Regions from separate parts of the Homo sapiens genome. Here region 1 is linked to region 2. The links are contacts of gene promoters, found by promoter capture Hi-C in human tissues and cell types (Jung and others, 2019). All regions are on one chromosome and are shown on one strand. The core of a region is centred on a gene start or on the middle of the fragment in contact, and the rest is flanking DNA. Distances in the headings are between cores, read along the strand shown. Region 1 has its middle 7.9 kb from the start of LINC01857. Region 2 holds the start of PLEKHM3 (pleckstrin homology domain containing M3).

What was found. Contacts are between HindIII fragments. The study calls those that stand out against the background at their distance.
Region 1: a contact is called between a fragment that was not itself captured here and the fragment with the promoter of PLEKHM3 in region 2, in 1 of the 25 tissues and cell types used here (spleen).

Annotation. Positions count from the first base shown.
Region 1 is chr2:207,650,967-207,657,976 of GRCh38, forward strand. It overlaps the pseudogene RPS29P9. Among named protein-coding and RNA genes, the nearest start is that of LINC01857, 7.9 kb to the right of the region's middle. The HindIII fragment of the contact is 8,714 bases long and covers 1-6,575 here.
Region 2 is chr2:208,022,363-208,029,411 of GRCh38, forward strand. PLEKHM3 (pleckstrin homology domain containing M3) reads right to left here and starts at 3,165. Exons shown (of 8, transcript NM_001080475.3): 1 at 3,027-3,165. The HindIII fragment of the contact is 4,894 bases long and covers 1-4,476 here.

The DNA.
Region 1 (7,010 bases), core at 969-3,468, 370 kb before region 2:
ATGGAGAGAGAAAAGTGGCTCCACAGGGAGCTTGCTTATTGAGATGTAGGACAAATAAAGTGGGTGAAAGAGGTTAAAAAAAAGAAGCACTCTGAGAGGAGATTGAAGTGTAACTTTAATACACAAAAGAAAAGCTGTATTCCACACTTCTGATCACCTCCCCTTTCTTACTCTTCAGGCTTTAAATTCTGACTTTCTAATACCTCATTCGATCATATTGAATTAGCCTGAAGTTTGATTTGGAGGGCTGGTGACCCAGTCTCATTTTGGCCTGATGACATTTTGGGCTTGGGACTATCTCCCTTTTTTAGTACTTAGCTCAACTGCAGAAATAATACCAGCAATAATAATATCATCCCCTTACCATGCAACTCTAATTGAAATGTGAATGGATGTGCTATTGGCCAAGGGCCCCTGTCCACTAATTATGTATCATCTGAAAATCTGACCCAAGTATCTGGCAATCAAAGAGGGATAGCTTTCATCCTGCTGTTACCTGTTCACAGTTATGCCATCTGGCTCTTATACCCAGAAGAAAACTTGGCATCCGTATTCAACCAGAATGACCGTCAATTCTCAAAACATCTTATTTTCTCTTTGCCAAGAACCAAGTGACAACTGATCTCAAAGTGTAAGCACTTAACCTATAAAACAAATGACTTGGGGGAAGAGGCATTTTTCTCAATGAAAAATAGGGTTGAGAGAGTATTTTTGTGTCATCAGACATCTCAAACTATGTTTTAATAGTATAACCTAATTTATATTTCCTTTGTGTTTGTCTCTGATTTTTCAGTTCATTTTAATAAATACTTTTTGAGCACCTGCCATATGAAATGAAATGAGCCAAGCACTAAAAGGATACCAAGTTGTAATAGTCAAGGAAATGGCTCTAGCTCTGTAGGAATAAAACATCAGATTTCAGGCCGGGCACGGTGGCTCATGCCTGTAATCCCAGCACTCTGGGAGGCCGAGGAGGGCAGATCACCTGAGGTCGGGAGTTCGAGATCAGCCTGACCAACATGGAGAAACCCTGTCTCTATTAAAAATACAAAATTAGGCCGGGCACGGTGGCTCACGCCTGTAATCCCAGCACTTTGGGAGGCCGAGGTGGGCAGATCACGAGTTCAGGAGATTGAGACCATCCTGGCTAACACGGTGAAACCCCGTCTCTACTAAAAATACAAAAAAAAAAAAAATTAGCAGGGCATGGTGGCAGGCACCTGTAGTCCCAGCTACTCAGGAGGCTGAGGCAGGAGAATGGCGTGAACCCAGGAGGCGGAGCTTGCAGTGAGCCGAGATAGCGCCACTGCACCCCAGCCTGGGCGACAAAGCAAGACTCCAACTCCAAAAACAAACAAACAAACTCCTAGAAGAAAATATAGGAGAAAAACCTAGATACGCTCAGGTATGGTGATGACTTTTTAAATACAACATCAAAGGCATGATCCATGAAAGAAATAATAAATAAGCTGGACTTCATTCAAATTAAAAACTTCTGCTCTGTGAAAGAATATGTCAAGAGAATGAGAAGGTAAGCCACAGACTAGGACAAAATATCTTCAAAAGATATATTAAGATTATTACCTAAGATACAAAGAATTTTTTTTTTTTGAGACGGAGTCCTGCTCTGTTGCCAAACTGGTATGTAGTGGCACGATCTCGGCTCACTGCAACCTCTGCCTCCTGGGTTCAGGTGATTCTCCTGCCTCAGCCTCCCGAGTAACTGAGATTACAGGCACACGTCACCACGCCTGGATAATTTTTGTATTTTTAGTAGAGATGGGGTTTCGCCATGTTGGCCAGGCTGGTCTTGAACTCTTGATGTCAGGTGATCCACCCACCTCGGCCTCCCAAAGTGCTGGGATTACAGGCATGAGTCACTGCACCGAGACCAAAGAATTCTTAAAACTCAACAATAAGAAAAAAAACAACTTGATTTAAAAATTGGCCAAACACCTTAACAGACGCCTCACCAAACAGGTTGTAGATGGCAAATAAGCATATGACGAAATACTCCACATCATATGTCATCAAGGGAAAGCAAATTCAAACAGACACCACCTCACACCTATTAGAGTGACCAGAATTCAGAACACTGACAACAAATGCTGGTGAGGACATAGAGCAACAGGAGCTGTTGCTGGTGGGAATGCAAAAATGGTGCAACTAGTTTGGAAGACCATTTGGGAGTTTCTTACAAAACTAAACATACTTTTACCACATGATCCAGCAATCATGCTCCTTGGTGTCTACCCAAAGGAGTTAAAAACTTATGTCCAGGGTGGGGAATGGTGGCTCACACCTGTAATCCTGGCACTTTCGGAGGCTGAGGTGGGACAATCACTTGAGCTCAGGAGTTTAAGACTAGTCTGGGCAACATAGTGAGACCTCGTCTCTACAAAAAATTTAAAAATTAGCTAGGCATGGTGGTGCATGCCTGTAGTCTCAGCTACTTGGGAGGCTGAGATGGGAGGATAACTTGACTCCGGGAAGTTGAGGCTGCAGTGAGCCATGACCACACCACTGCACTCCAGCCTGGGTGACAGAGCAAGACCCTGCCTCAAAAAACAAGAAAAGAAGGAGGAAAGGGAAGAGAATGGGAGGGGAGGGGAGGGGAGGGGAGGAGAGAGGGAGGATGGAGGCAGAGAGGAGCTGGGAAAGGAGGCAGAGAGGGAGGGAGAGGGGAGGCAGGGAGGGAAGGGAAGGAAAAGAAAAAAAAAAAAAGAGCTCTCAAGCCATAAAAAGTTATGAAGCGGCCAGGAACAGTGGCTCACGCTTGTAACCTCAACACTTTGGGAGGCCGAGGCGGGTGGATCACTTGAGGCCAGAAATTGGAGACCAGCCTGGGCAACATGGTGAAACTCTATCTCTACTAAAAATACAAAAATTAGCCAGGTTTGGTGGCATATGCTTGTAAACCCAGCTACTCAAGCGGCTGAGGCAAAGAATCGCTGAAAAACAGGAGGCGGAGGTTGCAGTGAGCCGAGATCGCATCACTGCATTGCAGTCTGGGCAGCAAAGTGAGGCTGTCTCAAAAAAAAAGTTACGAAGAAAACTTAAATGCATATTACTAAGCGAAAGAATCCAATCCAAAAAAGGCTGCTTACTGCATGACATTTTGGAAAAGGCAAAACTATGGAGACAGTAAAAATATCGGTGGTTGCTAAGGGTTGGAGCCTGGGGTTAGTGCAGTGAAAATACTCTGCATGATACTGTCATGGTGGATACATTTCACTATACATTTGTGCAAACCCGTAGGATGAATAACACCGAGAGCACTAATATAAACTATGGGCTTTGGGGGATATGATGTGTCAGTATGGCGTCATCAGTTGTAACGAGTGCACCCCTCTGGTGCAGGATGTTGATAATGGTAAAGGTTATGCATCTGTGGGGACAAGTATATGAGGTATCTGTTTACCTTCCTCTCCATGTTGCTGTGAACCTAAAACTGATCTTGAAAAAAAAAATCTTGGCCAGGCGCAGTGGCTCACGCCTGTAATCCTAGCACTTTGGGAGGCCAAGGTGAGCTGATCACCTGAGGTTGGGAGTTCGAGACCAGCCTGACCAACAATGGAGAAACCCTGTCTCAACTAAAAATACAAAATTAGCCAGGTGTGGTGGCACATGCCTGTAATCCCAGCTACTCGGGAGGCTGAGGCAGGAGAATGGCTTGAACCCGGGAGGCAGAGGTTATGGTGAGCCAAAATCGTGCTACTGCACTCCAGCCTGGGCGACAAGAGCGAAACTCTGCCTCAAAAAAAAAAAAAATTTTTTTTTTTTACTTTTACCATGTTAAACTCCTGAGAGCAAGATGGGTCACCAAGAACTGTACTGGAGCCACCCGCGAAAATTTGGCCGCGGTTCTCGCTCTTGTCGCGTCTGCTCAAACCAGCACGGTCTGATCCGGAAATACGGCCTCAATAAGTGCAGCCAGTGTTTCCGTCAGTATGTGAAGGATATCGGTTTCATTAAGTTGAACTAAATGATCTTCCTTCAAAGGATAATCCAAGGCATCTACCCAATGAAAAACCATGATGCTTTTTTGTACATAAAATAAACATTTATTTTTAAAAAATCTTTAATTAAAAAAAAAGAGAAAAGAAACTTCATCAGAGTAGAAAAGAGTTCATAGAAGAGGTGTATCATGGAGGAAGTAGCATTTGAAATGATCCTTGACAGAACTGCCAGACAGCCTTAGTAAGAGCAGCATTCCAGAAGGAGCAATGAGCACTAATAAAGCAATAGTGGTGGAGAGAGAATGTTGAGTAACTAGTTTTCCTCACAAAGTTTTGCATAGGGGAGAGATTAAGCTTTAAACGTGGGTTAGATCCCTGCTGTCTAAGGCCTTCGATGTCAGGGAGAGGTTTTTTTGTTTTGTTTTGTTTTTTGTTTTGTTTTTTTTGACACGGAGTCTTGCTCTGTCGCCCAGGCTGGAGTGCAGTGGTGCGATCTCGGCTCACTGCAAGCTCCGCCTCCTGGGTTCACGCCATTCTCCTGCCTCAGCCTCCTGAGTAGCTGGGACTACACAGGGAAAGAGTTTTAATTCCATTCCTCCATTATCATAATCATCATGCTTTTTCCTTTTTTTGGAGACGGAGTCTCACTCTGTCACCCAGGTTGGAGTGCAGTGGCACGATCTCGGCTCACTGAACCTCCGCCTTTTGGGTTCAAGCAATTCTCCTGCCTCAGCCTCCCGAGTAGCTGGGACTACAGGCGCATGCCACCATACCCAGCTAATTTTTTATTTTTAGTAGAGACAAGGTTTCACCGTGTTGGCCAGGCTGGGCCTGGAGTTCTCGAACTCCTGACCTCAGGTGATTCACCTGCCTCGGCCTCCCAAAGTGCTGGGATTACAGGTGTGAGCCACCATGTCCAGCCAGATCATCATGCATTTTTAACGTAAAGGCCCAAGAACAATTACACCATTAATTGTTGACAAGTAATGGCCCCAGACCAGAAAATACATTCAGTCAGAAAAGACTTCATTTTGCAGAGGGCAACACTAATGACAGCATCAAATTGCATTCATGGGCTATAACAGAGTCCAGAATTTTGCATTTGTTCCCATGTGTCTTAATGTTTATTAAATCCAATCCAAACATTTCCACTACACTCTTGCTCTACTTCTCCCCAGATTGTCTCATGTATTTATCTAGAGATCCCAGCGGTAGCCTTACACACCAACATCACAAACCATCTGTGCCTCCTCTCAGGTATGGAAAGGGAATCCTATCAGGCCTGGGAACTCTAAATACCAAAACCAAACACTGTATATTCCACAAATATGATTTCCTTTTCCTTCAGCAGACAGTGCAGTCACAGTATGAAGGTCAACAGTGGTGTACGATCCATACTAGGAATTTTACAGGCATAAATATTTATTTTTAAAATTTTAGGTGCAAAGTAACAGGAGGAGTACATACAGCAGCATTGGGACACCTTAGGAAGGTAGTAATTAAACTTTTTCTGAAGTTGCTCTGTAATTCTAGCATTCTGGGAATTATGCCTTTCATGTGTATTCCTCCAAATCAGTTGAGGTTCCAAAATATACCCAAGTAGAGTATTTGAGAAATTCTAGTTGCAGGTGGGATCTGACTGCTTTGCATTGTGCTATATACATCAATCTATTAATATTAGTTGTTCCCTTTTTGGAACACAGTAGGAAATAAACAGACAAATTAGCAAATAGCTTACAAGAGAGATGGTGGCTTCATGTCTTCTACAGAAGTCTTACTTGAGGCTCTACAACTTGCCTTTACTTATTCTTATTCTTTTGATTCTATTTAATATAATTCAGTCTTACAAAACTGTTTTTAAGCCATGCATGATATAAACTAGAACTTAGATATCTCGACTTCTTAATATTATATGCTTAATTTTATGTGCTCCATAAAATAATTATAAGGAAGCAATAATTTTCTTTCTTTCTTTTTTTTTTTTTTGAGCTGGAGTCTCACTGTGTCACCAGGCTGGAGTGCAGTGGCACAATCTCAGCTCACTGCAAGCTCCACCTCCCGGGTTCACGCCATTCTCCTGCTTTAGCCTCCTGAGTAGCTGGGACTACAGGCGCCTGCCACCACCCCCGGCTAATTTTTTGTATTTTTAGTAGAGACAGGGTTTCACCATGTTAGCCAGGATGGTCTTGATCTCCTGACCTCGTGATTGAGGCCTCGGCCTCCCAAAGTGCTGGGATTACAGGCGTGAGCCACCGCGCCCAGCAGGAAGCAATAATTTTCATAACAACTGATATTTATTTTTTATAAGTTCACATTCACAACCATTTTCCCACTATCGAATTAGCAAAAATTTAAAAAACATTGTTGGTGAGACTATCATGAGATAAACATTTTCATTCACTGATGCTGTGAATTTAAATCAGAACAAACTTTCTCAAAAACAATTTGGCAAAAATGTATCAAGAATTTAAAACATCTATTCCATTTGTCTCAATTATATACATATGCACAAACAGAGCTAAAAGAAATGCCCCACCCCTTGCCAAGTCAAGGTGTTAATGATAGTTATTTCTTGGTGATGGGATAATAGGTAGTTTTTATTTTGGAATTATATTTAAAAATTTTATAACCAGTGAGAAAGTATTACTCACTGATTATAGCTATTTTAATCACTGAAGAATATTTATACAGGCCGGGCACAGTGGCTCATGCCTGTAATCCCAGCACTTTGGGAAGCCAAGGTGGAGGGATCACTTAAGGTCAGGAGTTCGAGACCAGACTGGCCAACATGGTGAAAACCCGTCTCTACTAAAAATACAAAAATTAGTCAGGCGTGGTAGCGTGGGCCTGTAGTCTCAGCTAACAAGGAGGCCAAGGCAGGAGAATCGCTTGAACCCAGGAGGCGGAGGTTGCAGTGAGCCGAGATCACACCACTGCATTCCAGCCTGGGAGACACAGTGAAGCGCCGTCTCAAAAAAAAAATACAAAAAAAAAAGAATATTTATGGAGAATTTTAATAAAACAAAATATTCACAATATGTAGTAAAAAAC
Region 2 (7,049 bases), core at 1,915-4,414:
AGAAGACTGGATGGGCTTGGCTGGGTTTTCTGCTCAGAGTCTCTCACACAAGGCTGAAACCAAGGTGGTGGCCAGGCTGGGCTCTTATCTATTAATAGAAACTCAGGTAAAGAATCCAGTTATAAGCTTATTGGGATTGTTGACAGAATCTAGTTCCTTGTGGCTTATGTCAGAGGTCCCCATTTCTTTCTATGCTGGTTGTTAGCTGGGGCCACCCTCAGCAACTCTAGGCCTCCAGCACTCCTCAAGGCTGCCCAAATTCCTTCTCAACAGTTCCTCTCCACCTTCGAAGCCGCAACACAGTATGTTGAGTCCTTCCCCTACTTTAAGTCTCTCCAATTTCCCAGACAGAGAAAGCTCCCAACTTGTATGGGCTCCTGTGATTAGATTAGACCCACCCAGAAAATCTCACCATTTTAAATTAAACTGTGCCACATAACATAATTGAGAAAGTGATATCTTATTATATGCACAGGTTTCACAGATTACAGACAGCAATTTTAGTAGAGAGACATTTTTAGAATTTTGCCTGCCACAGTCTTAGGTGTTGTTTCTTATCATTTGTTTGTGTTCTTTATAATTAAACCTCAATTACACAAATCTACTAAAAAAATGAATCTTACTGTTGACTGCCAGAAGCTGTATTTCCATAATGGCAAAGGCAACTAACTATGAATGGGGCTGCAGCATGCTAATAAAATTTTGAAAACATAACTTTGCTAACACTGGTATTTAAAAGTTTTAAATTGTGGTAAAATATATATAATATGAAATTTACCATATTAACCTTTTTTTTTTTTATGACATGGTCTTGCTCTGTTGCCCAGGCTGGTGTGCGTGGCGTAATCATACCTCACTTAACTTCCAACTCTTGGGTTCAAGCAATGCCCCCGCCTCAGCCTCCCAAAGCACTGGAATTACAGGCCTGAGCCATCATATCCAGCCCCATCTTAACTATTTTTAAGTGTACAGTTCAGTATTGTTAAGTACATTCACATTGTTGTGCAGCCAATCTCCAGAACTCTTTTCATTTTGCAAAACTGAAACTCTATACCCATTAAACCAGGAGTCCCCAACCCCCATGTCTGTAGACTAGTACGGGTCCATGGCCTGTTAGGAACTGGGCCACACAACAGTGAGCGATGGACCAGCCACGCATTGCTGTTTGAGCTCCGCCTCCTGTCAGATCGGCAGCAGCATTAGATTCTCATAGGAGCGCAAACCTTATTGTGAACTGTGCGTGCGAGGGATCTAGGTTGCACGCTCCTTATGAGAATCTAACTAATGCCTAATGATCTGAGGTGGAACAGTTTCATCCCGTAACTATCACCCCCCTACTCCCCGACCCCACACCACCCGCTCTGTGGAAAAATGGTCTTCCGGTCCCTGGTGCCAAAAACCACCAGGGGACCGCAGCATTAAACAACAAATCCCCATTGCCTGCCTCCCTCCAGGCCCTGGTAATCACCATTCCACTTTCAACACTGGCATATTTTTATTTTATATATTTATTAACAAACATGTATATAGCAATTACTATATGCCAGGTACGGTTCTAAGCCTTGAGCTCAGGAGTTCAAGACCAGCCTGGGCAACATGGCGAAACCCTGTCTCTACCAAATGTACAAAAATTAGCCAGGCGTGGTGGCTTGTGCCTATGGTTCCAGCCACAAGGGAGGCTGAGGTGGAAGGATCGCTTGAGTCCAGGAAGTCGAGACTGCAGTGAGCCATGATCACGCCACTGTACTCCAGCCCGAATGACAGAGTAAGACCCTGTCTCAAAATAAAATAAAATAAAATAAAATAAAATAAAATAAAATAACAATAATAAAAACCCTAATGAGGTCAATACTATTATTATTCCCATTCTACAGATTAGGAAACAGAAGCGCTAAGTAAACTGCCCAAGATTACACAACTAGGAAGTGACCAAGCAGGAATTCAAACTGAAGTAGTCTGGCTTTATAGTTTTTGCTATAAACCATGACATTGTAAAAATATTCATTGTAAAGAAAAACTCATCAGGAATTAGTATCATTTCTTCTATGTATATCTATCTATTGTAGGTGCAATTTAACCTAATATTCATCTCCTGTCTAAAAGACTATGTGACCAAGGTTACAAATGTCTACTGATATTTTTAGAGACTAGATATATAGCCCAGCTTTTGTTAAGGCATTTTCTTGAAGTCAGTCAGTCAAAAACTGCCTTGTATTTTAAGTATGCCAATTATAATTTACATGTAGTATTTTATAATAAAATACTTTATAAATACAAATCACAACTCACTACGATTACTTAAAATATAGAGAAAAAAATTCAGCTGTTTCTCTCTGGTCCCTTCCAAGGAAGAAAAAAGAAGAGAGAAATAAACTTCTAAATAAGTTTACAACAGCATGGCTCAATCTCAGTTTAACCTGGTAAATTCAAATTTGTCTTGCTTTGCAAGGTATACATCCAGACCAGTCTCAATTTGTCATCCAAATATATATCTCAGTAGTAATTTATTTTTGTTTAAGGGATGAGTGTGAGATTTTCTTATCTTGATTTTTTAGCTTAATAATTCTTTCCTACAAGACCAAACCATGCTTGTCATCAGTCATGTGGTGTCATTTACTATACATTAAAAACGGACAGAGTCGACAGAAAGAACAATCGTTTTCTGGAAGCCCCAGCCTGATGTAGGTTAAAAGCTCTGCTGGGGTTTGGTTTTATAATCCCCAGGCGGGGATGGCAGGGATACTAATAACGCACTCAACAAGATCACCTACTATTTCAACTACTTTCTCCTCCTATTACATACCTGATTCACAAAAATAAGCAGACAATGCATCATGTAATCTCCCCTCACCCATTAGCCATTGCAGTGTGGTACAATCTCCAGCACGTAATAAAAACCTGAGCATGCAAGAAACAGCAAAATCACTGCTATCCCTGGGAGCTGCTCGGATATTTACAATGCAGTCGTCCCCACCCCATCCCCCAAACTGGCCGGCCAGGCAGCACAGAAGCAGACGGATGCTCACCTGGGCCCCGGCTGCTACTCTCCATTCACCTGCGGGGCCTTCAGTCCGCTCCTGGAGGGGCTTGACTCCCGCAGCCTGCCGCCCGCCTCACGGTGACAGCCCGCCCGGGCGCTGACCATCCCGGCCCGGCTCTGTTTACAAGCGGCTTCTCGCGGTCCCACTCTGAAATGCTTCCGCCGGCGGCCCGGGCAGCCAGAGCCGGACACACAAGGTTCCAGGCCGCGAGGACGAGTCTTTCCTGCCCGAGGGACCCGGCAGCTAGGCAAGGCCTGACCGCACCCGCCAGGCCTCCTTATTTCTTTGCTTTCTTATATACAGTTCCTCTTGTACACATTGTGAAAGCAATGGCGTGTGTCGTGGAGTCTCCTCACTGCTCCACCCAACGCCAAAATGGGTGTTTGCGATTGGAAAATGTCACTTAGAACATGTCAGGATCGGGCTGGTTTTTAGCAGCTCCCTTGTCTAAGGGAATTAATTACTCAAATAAGTTCTTTCCAAAAGTGGGACTATTCTGGAGATTGCTTCTCATTTCCGGTTTTGGGGCTGCAGTGAAAATCCGTTTTCACTGTCCTTTCCTACGCAGGTTGAAAAGGGGTGGTTTTGAGGTGAGGTCTTCACCCCCACTTGCGGATTCCCAGCAAAATAGGGTGTGCGTGTGTGTGCACGCGGGCAGGACTGCCTGGTAAGACCGCCCACATCCCACCTGCAGTGACTGTGGTCGCTTTGCAGGGATATGCTGGTCTGATTGGACAGACCTTCCTTGCAGTTTCCTGTCTGTTTTCCATCATAGCACACTTCTTAGCCATTTTCTCACTTTATAAGTACACACTTATTTATCAGTTTTATTGGTTTTCCCACGCTCACCCATCTCACCTATAAACTCCCTGAGGGCAGGCACTATTTCAGTTTCACTCACCACCATCTAGTAGGCACCTAGCACAGGCCCAATGTATATATATCTGAATAAATGAATGAACAAAGGAATGATAAAAAAAAAAAAAGGTCAAAGGGGTCAGGGATGAAACAGAAATCTAAAACTCTGATTCCTCTTCCCACCTTCCCACCCTCCAGAAGATTAATAAGCAAATCTTTAAGCTTTGAGTTAAGAAAAAATTTCCTTTGGTTGATATTCAAAGTTTAAATAAGCTTTCTTTAAACCCTGCAATTTGAGGTACTTTTTTTTCTGTTTTGCTAGAGACAGGATCTCACTCTGTGCCCCGGCCAGAGTGCAGTCGCACGATCATAGCTCACTGCAGCCCTGAACTCCTGGGTTCAAGGGATCCCCCCAACTCAGCCTCCTGAGTAGCTAGGACTACAGGCACGCATCACCACAACGTGGCTAACTTCTTTTTTCTTTCTTTCTCTTTTTTTTTTTTTTGTAAAGGCAAGGTCTCCCTGTGTTGCCCAGGATGATCCTGAACTCCTGGCCTCAGGCAATCCTTCTTCCTTGCCTTCCAAAGTGCTGGGATTACAGGTGTGAGCCACCTCACCTGGCCAGAGGTACATTTTTTGTTTTGTTTTGTTTTAATTACCAAAAGAGAATATTTGCAGTATTCTCTTTTGCCTCAGGACTTTGTACATGTGATTCCCTCTGATGAGAGTTCTCACTCCTGGCCCATCCTCTTACTTAGGCTGGCTAATTTCTCTTTGCTCTTTAAGAAGCAGGTAACAGGTGCTTGGTCTCTCAAGTCACTTGCTTGGTCTTCTTCCAAGTGTTCTTTTCTTCTTTTCCTTCCCTTCATTACTACTCTAAAGCTTTTTAATAAACTTTCACTCTAAAAAAAAAAAAAAAAAAGGCCGGGTGTGGTAGCTCGTGCCTGTAATCCACGCACTTAGGGAGGCCAAGGCGGGTGGATCGCTGGAGGCCAGCGGTTCGAGACCAGACTGACCAACATGATAAAACCTCATCTCTACTAAAAATACAAAAATTAGCAGAGCATGGCGGTGCACGCCTGTAATCCCAGCACTTTGGGAGGTCGAGGCGGGTGGATTGATTGAGGCCAGCAGTTCGAGACCAGCCTGGGCAACATAGTGAAACCCTGTCTCTACTAAAACGAAAATTAGCCAGGCATGGTGGCACACGACCTGTAATCCCAGCTACTTAGGAGGCTGAGGCACTAGAATCGTTTGGACTCAGGAGACGCAGGTTGCAGTGAGCTGATATTGAGCCAGTGCACTCCAGCCTGTGCAAAAGAGCGAGACGCTGTCTCAAAAAAAAAAAAAAAGCAGATGACATCACACCTCTTCTGGAAACCTTGCCTGATAGGGGAACCTGCTCCTTTTATGCACTCCTAGAGGATCTCATGTGTTCCTTTATAAATGTACCCATTACATTGTGCTACACAGATCAGTCTTCCATTGGATTGGTGGTTCTCAAAATTCACATGGAACAGAATCTTCTAGGATGGTGTTTCTCAAACTTTAACGGGTAAGAATTCTGTCAAAATGCAGAATCTGATACAGTAAGTCTGGGATGGGGCCTCTCCAACAGTCATGATCTCCTAAGTGATGCTGCATTTTGAGTGTCAAGGTTCTTGAATGCTGTTAAAAATGCAGATTCCTAGGCCGGGTGTGGTGGCTCATGCCTGTAATCCCAGTACTTTGGGAGGCTGAGGCGGCCGGATCACCTGAGGTCAGGAGTTTGAGACCAGCCTGGCCAACATGGCGAAACACTGTCTCTACGAAAAATACAAAAAATTACCCGGATGTGGTGGCTGGTGCCTGTAGTCCAAGCTACTTGGGAGGCTGAGGCAGGAGAATTGCTTGAACCCAGGAGGCAAAGGTTGCAGTGAGCCGAGATCATGCCATTGCACTCCAGCCTGGGCGACAGAGTGAGACTCCATCTCAAAAAAAAAAACAAAAACAAAAACAAAAAACAAAAAAACCCCCGCAGATTCCTGGATCACACATTCACAGATTTTTATTCTGAAGATCTACCTACATTAGGGTCCTGAATTCCATAATTTCTACAAGGTCCTCAGTGCTTCCCAAGTTGGTGATCCATGGACCATCCTTTGAGAAAAACTCTTTCAGACTAGTCTTGAAGTCTGATGTCAGGAGTTTGTGATTTGTCATTGTTTTTCATGGATTAAGCATGAAGTCTGGGACATAAAATGCATTTAAAAAACTGCTTTTGGCCTGGCACAGTGGCTTACGCCTGAAATTCCAGCACTTTGGGAGGCCAAGGCAGGCGGATCCCTTGAGGACAGGAGTTCAAGACCAGCCTGGCCAACATGACAAAACTCTGTCTCTACTAAAAAATACAAAAATTAGCCGGGTGTCATGGCACACATCTGTAATCCCAGCTACTCGGAGGCTGAGGCAGAGAATCACTTGAACCTGGGAGGCGGAGGCTGCAGTGAGCTGAGATCATGCCACTGCACTCCAGCCTGGGAGATAGAGCAAGACTCCATCTCAAAAAAAAAAAAAAAACAAAAAAAGCTGTGTTTGCAAAATGACTGATTTTATTCACTCTCACTAATACAGATCCTCAGCACCAGAATTAAGGGGATGATCCCAGAAAAAGGCTGAAAGATTTAGGGCTGAGAATAATCTCAGCTAGGCAGCCACTGGCTCATGGACCTCTGTATGTCAGCTAGGAGCTCTATATGTCAGCTAGGCCTCTGTATGTCAGCTAGGAACATTTTGCCTCTCTAAATGTAAAATATTTAAGTTCATATCTCCATTCAAAAGGTTGTCTGCTAAAAGCAGCTCCATCATCTTCTTTTGCCTTTTTTTTCTTTTTTTGAGATGGAGTCTGGCTCTGTTGCCCAGGCTGGAGTACAGTGGCGCAATCTCGGCTCACTGCAACCTCCGCCTCCTGGGTTCAAGTGATTCTCCTGCCTCAGCCTCCTGAGTAGCTGGGACTACAAGCATTTGCCACCACACCCAGCTAATTTTTGTATTTTTAGTAGAGACGGGGTTTCACTATGTTGGCCAGGATGGTCTCCATCTCTTGACCTTGTGATCTGCCCGCCTTGGTCTCCCATAGTGCTGGAATTACAGGCGTGAGCCACCGCACCC